3 separate regions of the Homo sapiens genome follow, and all the other regions are linked to region 3. The links are contacts of gene promoters, found by promoter capture Hi-C in blood cells and fetal thymus (Javierre and others, 2016). All regions are on one chromosome and are shown on one strand. Each heading gives the region's core, a stretch centred on a gene start or on the middle of the fragment in contact. The rest is flanking DNA. Distances are from core to core; before and after follow the strand shown.

Region 1 (3,472 bases), core at 1-2,500, 610 kb before region 3:
ACCAAGGTTCCAGCAGGTGAATCTTGCACATGAGACAGGCTGCATAAAGGACGATGTGTGTAAGGGCCTGTCATGTGAACACATGTCCTGTGTACACATCAAGGTGGGGATGGGCAAGCACCCACAATGGGTTCGGTCCAACCAGCACCTTCTGAGACTGTGTAGCAAAAACTGGACCCAGCCCTGGGGTGCTAGTATGATGTGACACTTGCATCCAGGGAGGTCACCATCTGTGTATGTGGAGCCCATTCTTATAGAAAAAGAGTAAACTCTGCTAAGAGCATAGAAAAGACTTGGGAAAAGTACCCAGCAAGGCAGCAGAAAGGCTCCTGCAGAGACGACCTTTGAGCTAGGTCCTGAAGAGGTGGCAAGGAACCAGGACAGAACATTGGGAAGGCCCTTTACCGCACAGAAAATGGCTGAGCAAAGTTCCCAATTTCCCCGAGACGGGAGCTGAGGTCGACCAGGAGCGGGATCCTTGGTCTGCATCCCGCATGGGGCTTCCTGCAACACCCAGGGCAGAGTGCTCGCAGAGGCCTGGCCTGTGACAGGCTGGGCCAGGGGATAAGGAAGTTCTGTCACATCAGGTGCGTGAGAACCACCTCCTCCCTAGCTTCAGTGTCAGGAAGGGATGCCAGCGTCCTTCCAGCCACTTCATATTTATAAATTCCTTTAATCATCATAACACCTCACAGAGACAGGCATCAATATCCCACTTTGCAGACAAGAACACGGGCTCCAGGAGGGGAAATGGGGCCACCGAGGCCAAAGTAAGAGTCCTGCTTGGACACCAGCGGAGCACAGCCTCTACTCCTAGGGCCTGGCCTCGGGACCTGTCGAATGCCGACTCCCGCTCACCCCGAACCCATGCAGAACGATCTCACAGGGGGCGGCGGGGAGTGGGGAGACCCCGCTGCTGCGCGACCCCTCGCTGGAGCTGCTGGGCCGCCACGCGCGCCTTCGGTCCTAACGGCAGTGCCGGCCGAAACCCGGCCCTGCTCGGACCCGGAAGGATCCGAATCCGCCCCCCTGACAGGGTCCTCTCGGCCGAGGTCACCCCAGCTGGGCCAGAGGCAGGCGCACGCGGCTCTACAGGCAGCGGCGTCGGTTTCGGCCCGGCCCTGCCCCCAACGGCTCCGCTCTCCCGCGCTCACCCCGAGCCCAGTCCGCCATCGTGCCCTGCCCCGGCTCCTCGACGCGGACACCGACGCGGCCACAGCCGCCTCAGACGTGGCGCAGTCGCGGGGAAAGAGCTTCCGGCCCCGCCCCCAGCTAGCGATGGCCCCGCCTCCGCACCGACCACGCCCCTAGATAGCCCAGCCCCTTCCGCTTCGGGCTCGCTGACTTCCGGCTTAGGGCCGAGGGTGGGGAACTGCCGGGCGCGGAAGCGATGGGCATATCTGTGGCTTATTTTCAGCACTGTCGCGCAGACAGTGGCGCGATCTCAGCTCACTGCAGCCCCCGCCTGCCGGGCTCCCAAGGTGCTGGGATTACAGCAGCACCGCGGATGTGACGTTTGGTGTTCCTGTGAACGTGGGGCGGGGCGGGGCCGTTTGCTTGCTCAGTGCCTAGACGATGGTGGTGGAAAGACGCTTCTGTGGGTTAGGTCCTAACGGTTAGGAAGGATTCACAGGCGGGTCATGAGGAAGGAGCAGACCCCTCGGGCAGAAGCCCGCGAGGAGCACTGGGTGTGGTGGGGGCAGGGGTGCCTCCTCTGTCAAGTGGAGATCGGCGCCTCGCTCGTGCCTGCGAGTGCGCGCCGCGTCGAATACAGCCGTACAGAACGCACTACAGGAAAGTGAAGCCGGGAGAGAGACTGGGAGGCGGCGCGGGGACTGGGGGCCGTAGACGCCTTTGCTCCCGGGCACTTGTTAGAAGAGCGAGTGGATCGCGCTTCCTGTGCGTCACTGAATCCTCATGACGGCCACTGAAACGGACACGCAGGATCTTTGCTTTTCAAGAGGGAACTGAGTCCAGGCCAGACTGGGTTGCTCCCCTTTCTCTCGGCCCCTCCACCTTTGCAAGTGCTGCTCCTTCTGCCTGGAGTGGCTCCTCCAGTCTTTTCCCGGCTCACTTCCCACCGTCCGGTGTCAGCAAAAACAGCACTTCCTCACAGCCCGTTGCAGCCCAGCAGTCGCCTTTTGCTTCTTTTGAAGCACAGCCCTGTGACCGCCTCGTGTCCTTTTGTTTTTCCTTGTCCCCCTTCCCCTCTGGAACATAAGCTCCACAAAGGCAGGGACCTGGGAATCCCGTTCGCCTGCATTCCCCAGCAAACGCCTAACGAACCCAATGGCCCAGGACTGAAAATTCCTTTCCACTTCGGCTTTCCCCTCTACATCCCATCGGTTCTGTGGAGCTCGAGGGGCGTCACTGTGTGTGTGGCAGGGCACGGTGGGGGCTGAGATCGTTTCCTGTTGGAACTTCTGGCCCAAGAAGCGCGGGTCACAAGGAGAGGGGTCAGTTCGGTTCAGAGCGACTCAGCCCCTCGACTCGGGTCTTAAAACCTCCGAGCCGCCAGTTCTGCCTCAGGCCGCGCCCCCTTAAAGCGCCACCAGACGCTGCGCCCCGTTAAAGCGCCACCAGACGCCGCGCCCCGTCCCGGCCTCCCCCGCGCGCTGGCGCGGGGCTTTCTGGGCCAGGGCGGGGCCGGCGAACTGCGGCCCGGAACGGCTGAGGAAGGGCCCGTCCCGCCTTCCCCGGCGCGCCATGGAGCCCCGGGCGGTTGCAGAAGCCGTGGAGACGGGTGAGGAGGATGTGATTATGGAAGCTCTGCGGTCATACAACCAGGAGGTAAGCGGCCGCCTGAGGCCGGGGGGCGGGCACGGAGGGGGTGGGGCAGGGTCGTGCGCGGGTAGCAGGGAGGGCGTGGGTGAGGCAGAGGCTGTGTCAGCAAGCGTAGGGGACGCGGCGGGGTGCGGGGGGCAGGTCTGGGATGCAGTGTTGCGGGGAGAGTGGGGGTGCACCCGTTGGGTGGCAGGCGTGTAGGGATGGGGGCGAGTGCCGACCCTGCCATCCGTTCTGAGCAGTGGCTGCTGCCTGAGTTAGAGGCCAATAGGCCGCCCGCATCAGCGGACGCGGATCCTACCCCTCTGTGGATTTGAATTCACTAGTTCTCTCTGCAGCACTCCCAGAGCTTCACGTTTGATGATGCCCAACAGGAGGACCGGAAGGTGGGTGCTGGCCCAAGGGGTAAAGGGGCAGGGACGGGTGGCCCCAGGAAGAAGGGCCTGGTGGAGCCGCTCTTCTCCCTGCCCACAGAGACTGGCGGAGCTGCTGGTCTCCGTCCTGGAACAGGGCTTGCCACCCTCCCACCGTGTCATCTGGCTGCAGAGTGTCCGAATCCTGTCCCGGGACCGCAACTGCCTGGACCCGTTCACCAGCCGCCAGAGCCTGCAGGCACTAGCCTGCTATGCTGACATCTCTGTCTCTGAGGGGTCCGTCCCAGAGTCCGCAGACATGGATGTTGTACTGG
Region 2 (4,015 bases), core at 1,142-3,641, 580 kb before region 3:
CTATTCACTTAAGGTCGTTCCCCAAACAGCTACTGTGCTCCTACTAAACACGAACTGTTAAGAGAAGCACAAAAGGAATGAAAGTTATTATTGCTGTTGAGTGCCTGCTGAGGGCAAGGTATCACGAAGGGTGCCTGAGTACATTCCTCATTTACGTAAATAAAATGTTTGTGAGTCACTGAAAAACACATAAACGGCGTTTTACCAAATGTCTGGAACATACGTAAGATGTATGGCTTAAAGTACATGCTGCATGGTGTGAAATTCACTGGGAGTGGGGGACCCTGAGGGGCAGGCATGGGTGCAACCTGGGAGGGACACTGTGCAAAGGACACAAACAACAAATTCAGAGAGCTCAAAAATCCAAAGCCAAACTGGAGGAAGCCCATGCAATGGACTACTCCTCACACGCAGCCCTATGCCTCCTGCTTTAGGGCCAGTGGTAGCAAGGATTTTTGTTTTGTTTTGTTTTGTTTTGTTTTGAGACGGAGTCTCGCTCTGTTGCCCAGGCTGGAGTGCAGTGTCGCGATCTCGGCTCACTGCAAGCTCCGCCTCCCAGGTTCACGCCATTCTCCTGCCTCAGCCTCCCGAGTAGCTGGGACTACAGGCACCCGCCACCACGCCTGGCTAATTTCCTTGTATTTTTAGTAAAGACGGGGTTTCACTGTGTTAGCCAGGATGGTCTCGATCTCCTGACCTCGTGATCCGCCCGTCTCGGCCTTCCAAAGTGCTGGAATTACAGGCGTGAGCCACCGCGCCCGGCCGCAAGGATTTGTTTTAACAGTTTTGCAGAGTATCACAGATATTAGAATGCGCTCCACGTGTTTGTAGGTCCTGGTCCCTGCTCCATCCATAGCACCTAGAACAGAGTCTGGCACAGAATAAGAGCTCAGTCAGGGCTTCTTGGATGAACGACTGACTCTTCGGGATCTTTGTTTTTTTTTGAGACGGAGTTTTTGCTCTTTCGCCCGGGCTGGAGTGCAATGGTGCCATCTCGGCTCACTGCAACCTCTGCCTTCCGGGTTCAAGTGATTCTCCTGCCTCCGCCTCCTGAGTAGCTAGGATTACAGGCGCCCGCCACCACGCCCGGCTAATTTTTGTAATTTCAGTAGAAATGGGGTTTCACCATGTTGGCCCAGCTGGTCTCGAACTCCTGACCTCGTTATCCACCCGTCTCATCCTCCCAAAGTGCTGGGATTACAGGCGTGAGCTACCGCGCCCGGCCAACTCTTCAGGATCTATTAAACTTTTTTCTTTTTTTTTTCCCACAGGTAGATAAGAGTCTTGCTCTGTCACCCAGGCTGGAGTGCAGTGGCTCAATCATAGCTCACTGCAGCCTTGAACTCCTGGACTCAAGGGATCCTCTTGCCTTAGTCTCAGGAGTAACTGGGACAACAGGCTTGCGCCACCATGCCCGGCTAATTTTTAAATTTTTGGTAGAGATGGGGGTCTCGTTATGTTGCCCAGGCTGCTCTTGAACTCCTGGCCTCGAGCGATCCCCGTCTCAGCCTCCGAAAGTGCTGGTATTACAAGTGTGAGCTACCACTTCGAGACTCACTTTTCACCAACATTTTCAGCAGTTGTGTCAGACAGCAAGTCAATGTGCCATTATTTACTTAAATATTCATCCATTATAGGGCATCTGATACCTAACAACCATGGACCTTAAGATTTTTTCCTATGTAGCCTCAGTTCTTAGATGCAATTACTATGGAGACGGGTACGATCACATGCCAGTGGGAGTATTAACCGCACAACATTTATGAGGGATCATTAAAGCGTTAAATGCATATACTTTTGGACCTAGCAATCCCAGTACTAGGAATTTATGCAAACAGTGAGGTGCCAACAAGGTTATTCACCACAGCATGATGCACAATAACTAAAGGTTAGAACGTATTTCAATGAGGGAATGGTGAAATAAACGACAAAACCCCCATAAGTGACGTCCACAGATCAGCATAAAGACGGAGGCCCCGGTGTTGGAACGCACGTAAACTCCCAGACATGCCGCAAAGGAAACACGGCAAGGTGAGAAAGAGTGGGCGAGGTGTCGACAACGAACACGCAAGAAGTGCTTGTCCTTGCCCAAAATACCTCGAAAAGAAGAAACTGGGAGCTGCTGCCCTCGGCTGCCTCCGGAATGCCCTGGGCACCTCGGGTCTGGGAGGCCTCTGCAAGGGGCGCGCCGGGTCCAAGGGCTCACCGCGGGCCCCATGGCTGCCTCTCAGCCCCGCACTCACATCGTCCCTGCCGCCAAGCACCAGCCGACAGCCGCAGGCCTGAAACGGCCCCACGCCTCCCCCGGCCTCGACCCGTTCAACTACCCGGCCCCACAGCCGGAGGGCTGCCGCGGCGCGCCAACCCCAGAACGCCATGTTCCGCGCAGTCCAAGGAGTCCTCCGGACTCGCCCCGCCCCCGGCGCCCCGGCCCCGCCTCCGCCTCCCACCCCCGCCCCCGGCGCCCCAGCCCCGCCTCCGCCTACCGCCCCCGCCCCCGGCGCCCCGGTCCCGCCTCCGCGCCCCGCCCCCGCCTCCTTGCCGACGCCTCCGGCGCGCCCAGGTAGACGTAGAGGCGAGTAGAGGAAGTTCCCTAGTCTGGTGTCTCATCTCTCGCCCCGGAGGTCAAACCTGGAGCCAGCATTTCTGTACCCTGCGCTCACACCTTTTTCAACCCGGATGGCGGTGATAGTTAATACTTTCTGAGCGCTTTTACTATGGTCAGGCATTATATTTACACCTAATCCTCGCAAAACACTACTGGGAAGATCCTCATTTGACAGGAGCAATTCCGGGTCACAAAGGCTGACACCACAAAGCTAGTCCGTAGCGGGTTCGACCACAGGCGCCCACACTCTTTGACGCCTCAATGGCACAGCCAAGTGCGCGGGAAGTGGGCTGCAAACGCCGGAGAGTTTTGTCCGGAGCGCAGAGACGCGCTGTAACCGAGCAACCAGCGGGGCCCGCCCCCGGCCTGCTACGGCGCTCCCAGCCTGCCCCGCGCCGCTCGGCGCCGGAAGTGAGTGAGCATTTCCGGCAGCCATCCCCGCGGTGCTGACATCCCGGTTGTTCTTCTGTGCCGGGGGTCTTCCTGCTGTCATGAAGGACGTACCGGGCTTCCTACAGCAGAGCCAGAACTCCGGGCCCGGGCAGCCCGCTGTGTGGCACCGTCTGGAGGAGCTCTACACGAAGAAGTGAGCGCCGAGCAGACGGGCCCTGGGCCCCGGCGATAGAGGGAGACGGAGGGGGCAGGCGGGCGGAGGAGCGGACCCTTGATGGGCTGAGGGCGCCCAGACCCAAGTTGGGGGGAAACGGGGACGTGTAGCGACCGGCTGTGCCGGCAAGGTTTGCTGAGGAACCTTGAGTGGCAGGGTCGAGGAATAAGAGGGATGACAGACCACGAGGGCCAAGAGCTGTAGCCAGGATGTTTCGGTCTGAGATTCACTGCTTCCTTAACGGGGGACTGAGACTGAGGCTTCTGAACTCCTACCTCGGGTCTTACTAAAACGGTTCAGGAGTAGCCTTTGATTTTAGCTCTTGATTCCATCTAACAAGCAAACACACTTTCAGGGCCACCACCCACTTTGGGAAACATGTTGGTGATTCGTGCTTAGCCTTGTCATAGTGTAACTGTATCTACAGTTATCTTTCTCATGGTCTGGAGTTGATAAACCAGAGGCTAGTACAGCTTTGCTGTTTTCCCTATTCATTCTGCAGCTGGTTGCACGGGGTGCAACCACTTCCGCCGTCCCATTGTCTTTACCTTCCATTGTATTTCTCATGGGCTTTCTGCCCCTAGAAAGATCTTAAAGTTTAGGTTTGTTTAGAAACAGGATGAATTGCAGAGCAATTAAATTCTTGCTAAGCACTAACCTCCTTTTAATATGAGTAGAATAAATTGCTGGCATTGGGCTGGAGCTATTCCATAGAAAATACATCTCCTGTAGTAACCTCCCTGTTAACCCTAGCATTTAATATAATACCTTTCACATAGATGTTCCATACATGTTTTGAT
Region 3 (3,741 bases), core at 270-2,769:
TGACCTCGTGATCCACTCACCTCAACCTCCCAAAGTGCTGGGATTACAGGTGTGAGCCACTGTGCCTGGCCTATTTTTAAATTTTTTGTAGGGATGGAATCAAGCTATGTTGCCTAGGCTGGTCTCAAACTTCTGGACTCAAGCAATCCCCCCACCTTGGCCTCCCAGAGTGCTGGGATTATAGGTGTGAACCACTGTGCCCAGCCTAGAAGGAGTCGCTTTAAGTCAGGTATGGTCACGTCCTCCCTGCTTGACCCTCTCCCATGGCTGGGCTTCAGCTACTCTCTCCCCTCACTCCCCGACAATCTTCGCCTGTCCTGGTCGGCTGCCTGGGTCTGCTCATTTACCCTTCAAAATTCAACTCAGCATCACTTCCCACAGGGAAGCCCTCCAGAACCCCTTAGGTGCCCCACACGTGGTTACCTACCTCCTCTCACTCATTTTTCTTTTTTCTTTTTTTTTTTTTTTTTGAGAAGAAGTCATGCTCTGTCACCTGGCCAGGCTGGAGTGCAGTGGCACAATCTCAGTTCACTGCAACCTCTGCCTCCCGGGTTCAAGTGACTCTCTTGCCTCAGCCTCCCGAGTAGCTAGGACTACATGCGTGCACTACCACACCTGGCAAATTTTTGTATTTTCAGTAGAGACAGGGTTTTGCCATGTTGGCCTGGCTGGTCTCAAACTCCTGACCTCAGGTGATCTGCCCTCCTCGGCCTCCCAAAGTGCTGGGATTACAGGCATGGGCCACTGTGCCCGGCCTCTTTTTAGGACGGAGCCTCGCTCTGCCCCCCAGGCTGGAGTGCAGTGGTGCGATCTCAGCTCACTGCAACCTCCGCCTCCCAGGTTCAAGTGATTCTCCTGCCTCAGCCTCCCGAGTAGCTGGGATTACAGGCGTGTGCCACCCTGACCGGCTAATTTTTGTATTTTTGGTAGAGACAGCGTTTCACCAGCCAGGCGGTCTCAAACTCCCGACTTTCTGTGATCCGCCCGTCTTGGCCTCCCCAAGTGCTGGGATTACAGGTGTGAGCTTCCACACCCGGCCTCCTCTCATTTTGAGCTTATGTAAATGCCTACCGGCCCCCAGTAGGGCTGGGGCAGGGTTGACTTTCCAGTGCTGTCTGGGATGGCTGGGAGCAAAGAGGCTGAGGACTGGGCAGCATCCCCCTAGATGGCCCCATCCTGTTCTGGCCCTGTTCTGGCTTCCCTAACTCAGCTTGGGTTGGGGGCAGCCCCAAGCCCCATCCCAGACCCTCTGCAGCTCTGGCAACAGCTAGGTCCAGAGATGACCTCAGCCTGGGGAGCCAGTGTTCCTGGGGAGACAGAATCTCATTGCCTCCCACCCCAACCTGAGAAAGCCTCTCGTTTGGGGGTGGGGTGAGGTTCAGGGAGGGATCCTGGATCTACTCCAAGCCCTGTTTGCTCCACTGACCAGGAGAAAAATGCGGAAAAGGGGTGAAAGGGTGACATCACCCAGGATTGCTCCACCTCTGGGGCAATTATCGGGAGCAGGGCGGCCCCAGTCAGACGCAGGCAGCCCCAAAGCCTGAACAGGCAGGGCCAGACCCAGGTAAGAAGCCAAGGTCCGGAAGGGTCGCGGGCGCGGGGCAGGGCTGAGGCCCCACGTCAGGTCGCGTGGGTCTGCGGAGCTGGGGTCCCCCACGAAGGGTTTGCGGGACTCGCATCCGGCCTTGGCCTTGGATGTTTATGGGTCTGTCTGTGGGTGAGCCTGTGGGTCCCGGGGCTCCCGAGGCCTGTGCGGCTTTCAGGTCTGGGGGTGCTGCCGGTGCGCCTCTGTCCAGGGACCAGCTCCTCTGTCCCGGGTGGGTGTGGGAGGCGGACCCGGTGGGGAGGGGCGGTGGCTGCCCTGAAACCAGAGCTCCCTCTCGCCGGTACCCAGGTCTGTGTGAGGCTTCCGGCCCCCAGGCTCGGGCCTGCGCCCAGCCCACCCTACACCCCTAGGCGTGTGCCCCCAGCCGTGCCCAGCAGGGGCGGAGGGAGGGCAGAAGCTTTCTCCGGGCGGCAGCGGAGGGCGGGGCTCCAGCGCGGGGGGCCGGGTCAAGGACGGGGGCGGGTCCCGAGGGCACGGCCGTTCCCTGCGCGCCCCGATTGGTCTTCGTGTGCCGGCCCCGCCCCCGCCGTGAGTCCCACACTTAAAAGCGCCGCCTCCGCGCCGCCCGCGTAGCTTCTTCGCCTCCGCCAGCGGGGACCCCGAGCTAGAGCCGCAGCGGGACCTGCCCGGCCCCCGGCTCCAGCGAGCGAGCGGCGAGCAGGCGGCTCACAGAGGCCTGGCCGCCCACGGAACCCGGGGCCCGGCGGCCGCCGCCGCGATGTTTCCCCGCGAGAAGACGTGGAACATCTCGTTCGCGGGCTGCGGCTTCCTCGGCGTCTACTACGTCGGCGTGGCCTCCTGCCTCCGCGAGCACGCGCCCTTCCTGGTGGCCAACGCCACGCACATCTACGGCGCCTCGGCCGGGGCGCTCACGGCCACGGCGCTGGTCACCGGGGTCTGCCTGGGTGAGCGGGGCCGGGGGCGGCAGGCGGGGGGCTGGCGGGAAGGCCGTGCGGGGCCGGGGGATGGTCTCCGTGAGCGGAGGGGCCCCGCGGCGAGTCGGTGGGTACCGTGGGGAGGGTTCCGGTCCGCGCCTGGGGAACCCGGCGAGGATCCAATCCGGGTCGCTGGCCTGGGGGCGGGGCCTGGTTTGTTTTGCTCCGAGGGTGCCCGGGGCCCGCCTGTCTGGCGCAAAGGTTTGGGGGCGGGCAGGTGCAGCAAAAGCTGCTTAATTGGACAGAAAAAGTAACTCGTGGGCGGGACCGTGAGAATCCGAGGAGGGACCTAAGTCACCCCGTGGCCCTGGATATTACAACCGGTGCCAGCGATCGGTCACAGTGTCCTGGGCTTCCGCAGTTGCAGGCTGCTATCAGGGGGCCTGGCATGGGGGTAGCCTCTTGAGAGGCGTCTGGGAACCGTGACCTGGTCCTTCCCAAGGGCCCGGAGGAGGAGCCCCGCTGAGGTCAGGGCTGGGCGCGAAGGGGCTCTCCTGCCCTCTCCTTGCACACGGTGCCCTGTGGCCTGGCTCCCCGCTGCGGCCCACCGCGTTTGCACACTTCATGGGTGAGGGTGCTTCTGGGCTCTGGTGCCTGGGTCAGGAGTGGATGGGTCTCTGTGTGCTGGGCTGGCCTCGGCTCGCACCATCGGCTGCCATGAGGGAGTGATGTTTACAGCACACGACTTCAGGAGCCTGTGAGGACACCCAAGATGACAGGGGCACTCTGCTCAGCAGGAGCCTGTCCGGGGCTCACCCCTGCCCTCTTCCTCTGAACTTTGTCCTGGGAGGGAGGGGGCTGGACCACAGAAGTGAACCTCTCAGGTCCCAATAACTAGAGCTATTATTGGGAACAGCCCCCTCCAGCCCCCTCCCTCTCATGGAGGCCTTCAGACAAGCGCCTCAGTCGGCCCCCTGGCTTCAAGATACATCAAGGTCCCTGCTACCCGAGCCAAGGACACCTCTCCCACAGTGCTTCCCCACCCTGCTCCCAACAAGACTCCTTCTCACGGGTGGTCTTGCACAGCTGGAGCCCATAGTGCAGCAGGTGCTGGCTGAAGAGCCCCTGGCTCCACACTGCCCCACTCCTGACCAGGGTGATGCACTGGAGGAGGGCTTGGACCTCAGCTCCTCCCTCAGTGCTCCCGACCACTTCCAGGGACTATCCCCAAGCTGGCCAGCACTCCTGCGCCCCAAGAGG

The links. The method cuts DNA at HindIII sites, captures the fragments that hold promoters and counts their contacts. A CHiCAGO score of 5 or more calls a contact.
Region 1: the fragment with the promoter of BET1L here is called in contact with the fragment with the promoter of PNPLA2 in region 3 in 5 of 17 cell types (neutrophils, total CD8 T cells, fetal thymus and 2 more); the score reaches 11.8 in neutrophils.
Region 2: the fragment with the promoter of SIRT3 here is called in contact with the fragment with the promoter of PNPLA2 in region 3 in 1 of 17 cell types (non-activated CD4 T cells); the score reaches 6.5 in non-activated CD4 T cells.

Annotation. Positions count from the first base shown.
Region 1 is chr11:206,149-209,620 of GRCh38, forward strand. BET1L (Bet1 golgi vesicular membrane trafficking protein like) reads right to left here and starts at 1,251. Exons shown (of 4, transcript NM_001098787.2): 1 at 1,155-1,251. The coding sequence starts at 1,173. RIC8A (RIC8 guanine nucleotide exchange factor A) reads left to right here and starts at 1,560. Exons shown (of 10, transcript NM_001286134.2): 1 at 1,560-2,790; 2 at 3,123-3,170; 3 at 3,259-3,472. The coding sequence starts at 2,707. MIR6743 (microRNA 6743) reads left to right here and starts at 3,188; the gene lies at 3,188-3,258. RefSeq lists enhancers at 1-166, 477-978, 1,525-2,146, 2,002-2,171, 2,147-2,766 and 1 more and silencers at 923-982, 1,093-1,212, 2,274-2,472, 2,473-2,762, 2,833-2,942. The HindIII fragment of the contact is 6,341 bases long and covers 1-3,472 here.
Region 2 is chr11:233,951-237,965 of GRCh38, forward strand. It overlaps SIRT3 (sirtuin 3), which reads right to left and starts at 2,392. Exons shown (of 7, transcript NM_012239.6): 1 at 2,098-2,392. The coding sequence starts at 2,378. It overlaps PSMD13 (proteasome 26S subunit, non-ATPase 13), which reads left to right and starts at 3,026. Exons shown (of 13, transcript NM_002817.4): 1 at 3,026-3,194. The coding sequence starts at 3,100. RefSeq lists a silencer at 2,458-2,537 and enhancers at 2,688-2,877, 3,038-3,277. The HindIII fragment of the contact is 9,250 bases long and covers 1-4,015 here.
Region 3 is chr11:817,395-821,135 of GRCh38, forward strand. PNPLA2 (patatin like domain 2, triacylglycerol lipase) reads left to right here and starts at 1,520. Exons shown (of 10, transcript NM_020376.4): 1 at 1,520-1,564; 2 at 2,180-2,511. The coding sequence starts at 2,325. RefSeq lists enhancers at 1,275-1,569, 3,105-3,154 and a silencer at 1,765-2,654. The HindIII fragment of the contact is 6,852 bases long and covers 1-2,001 here.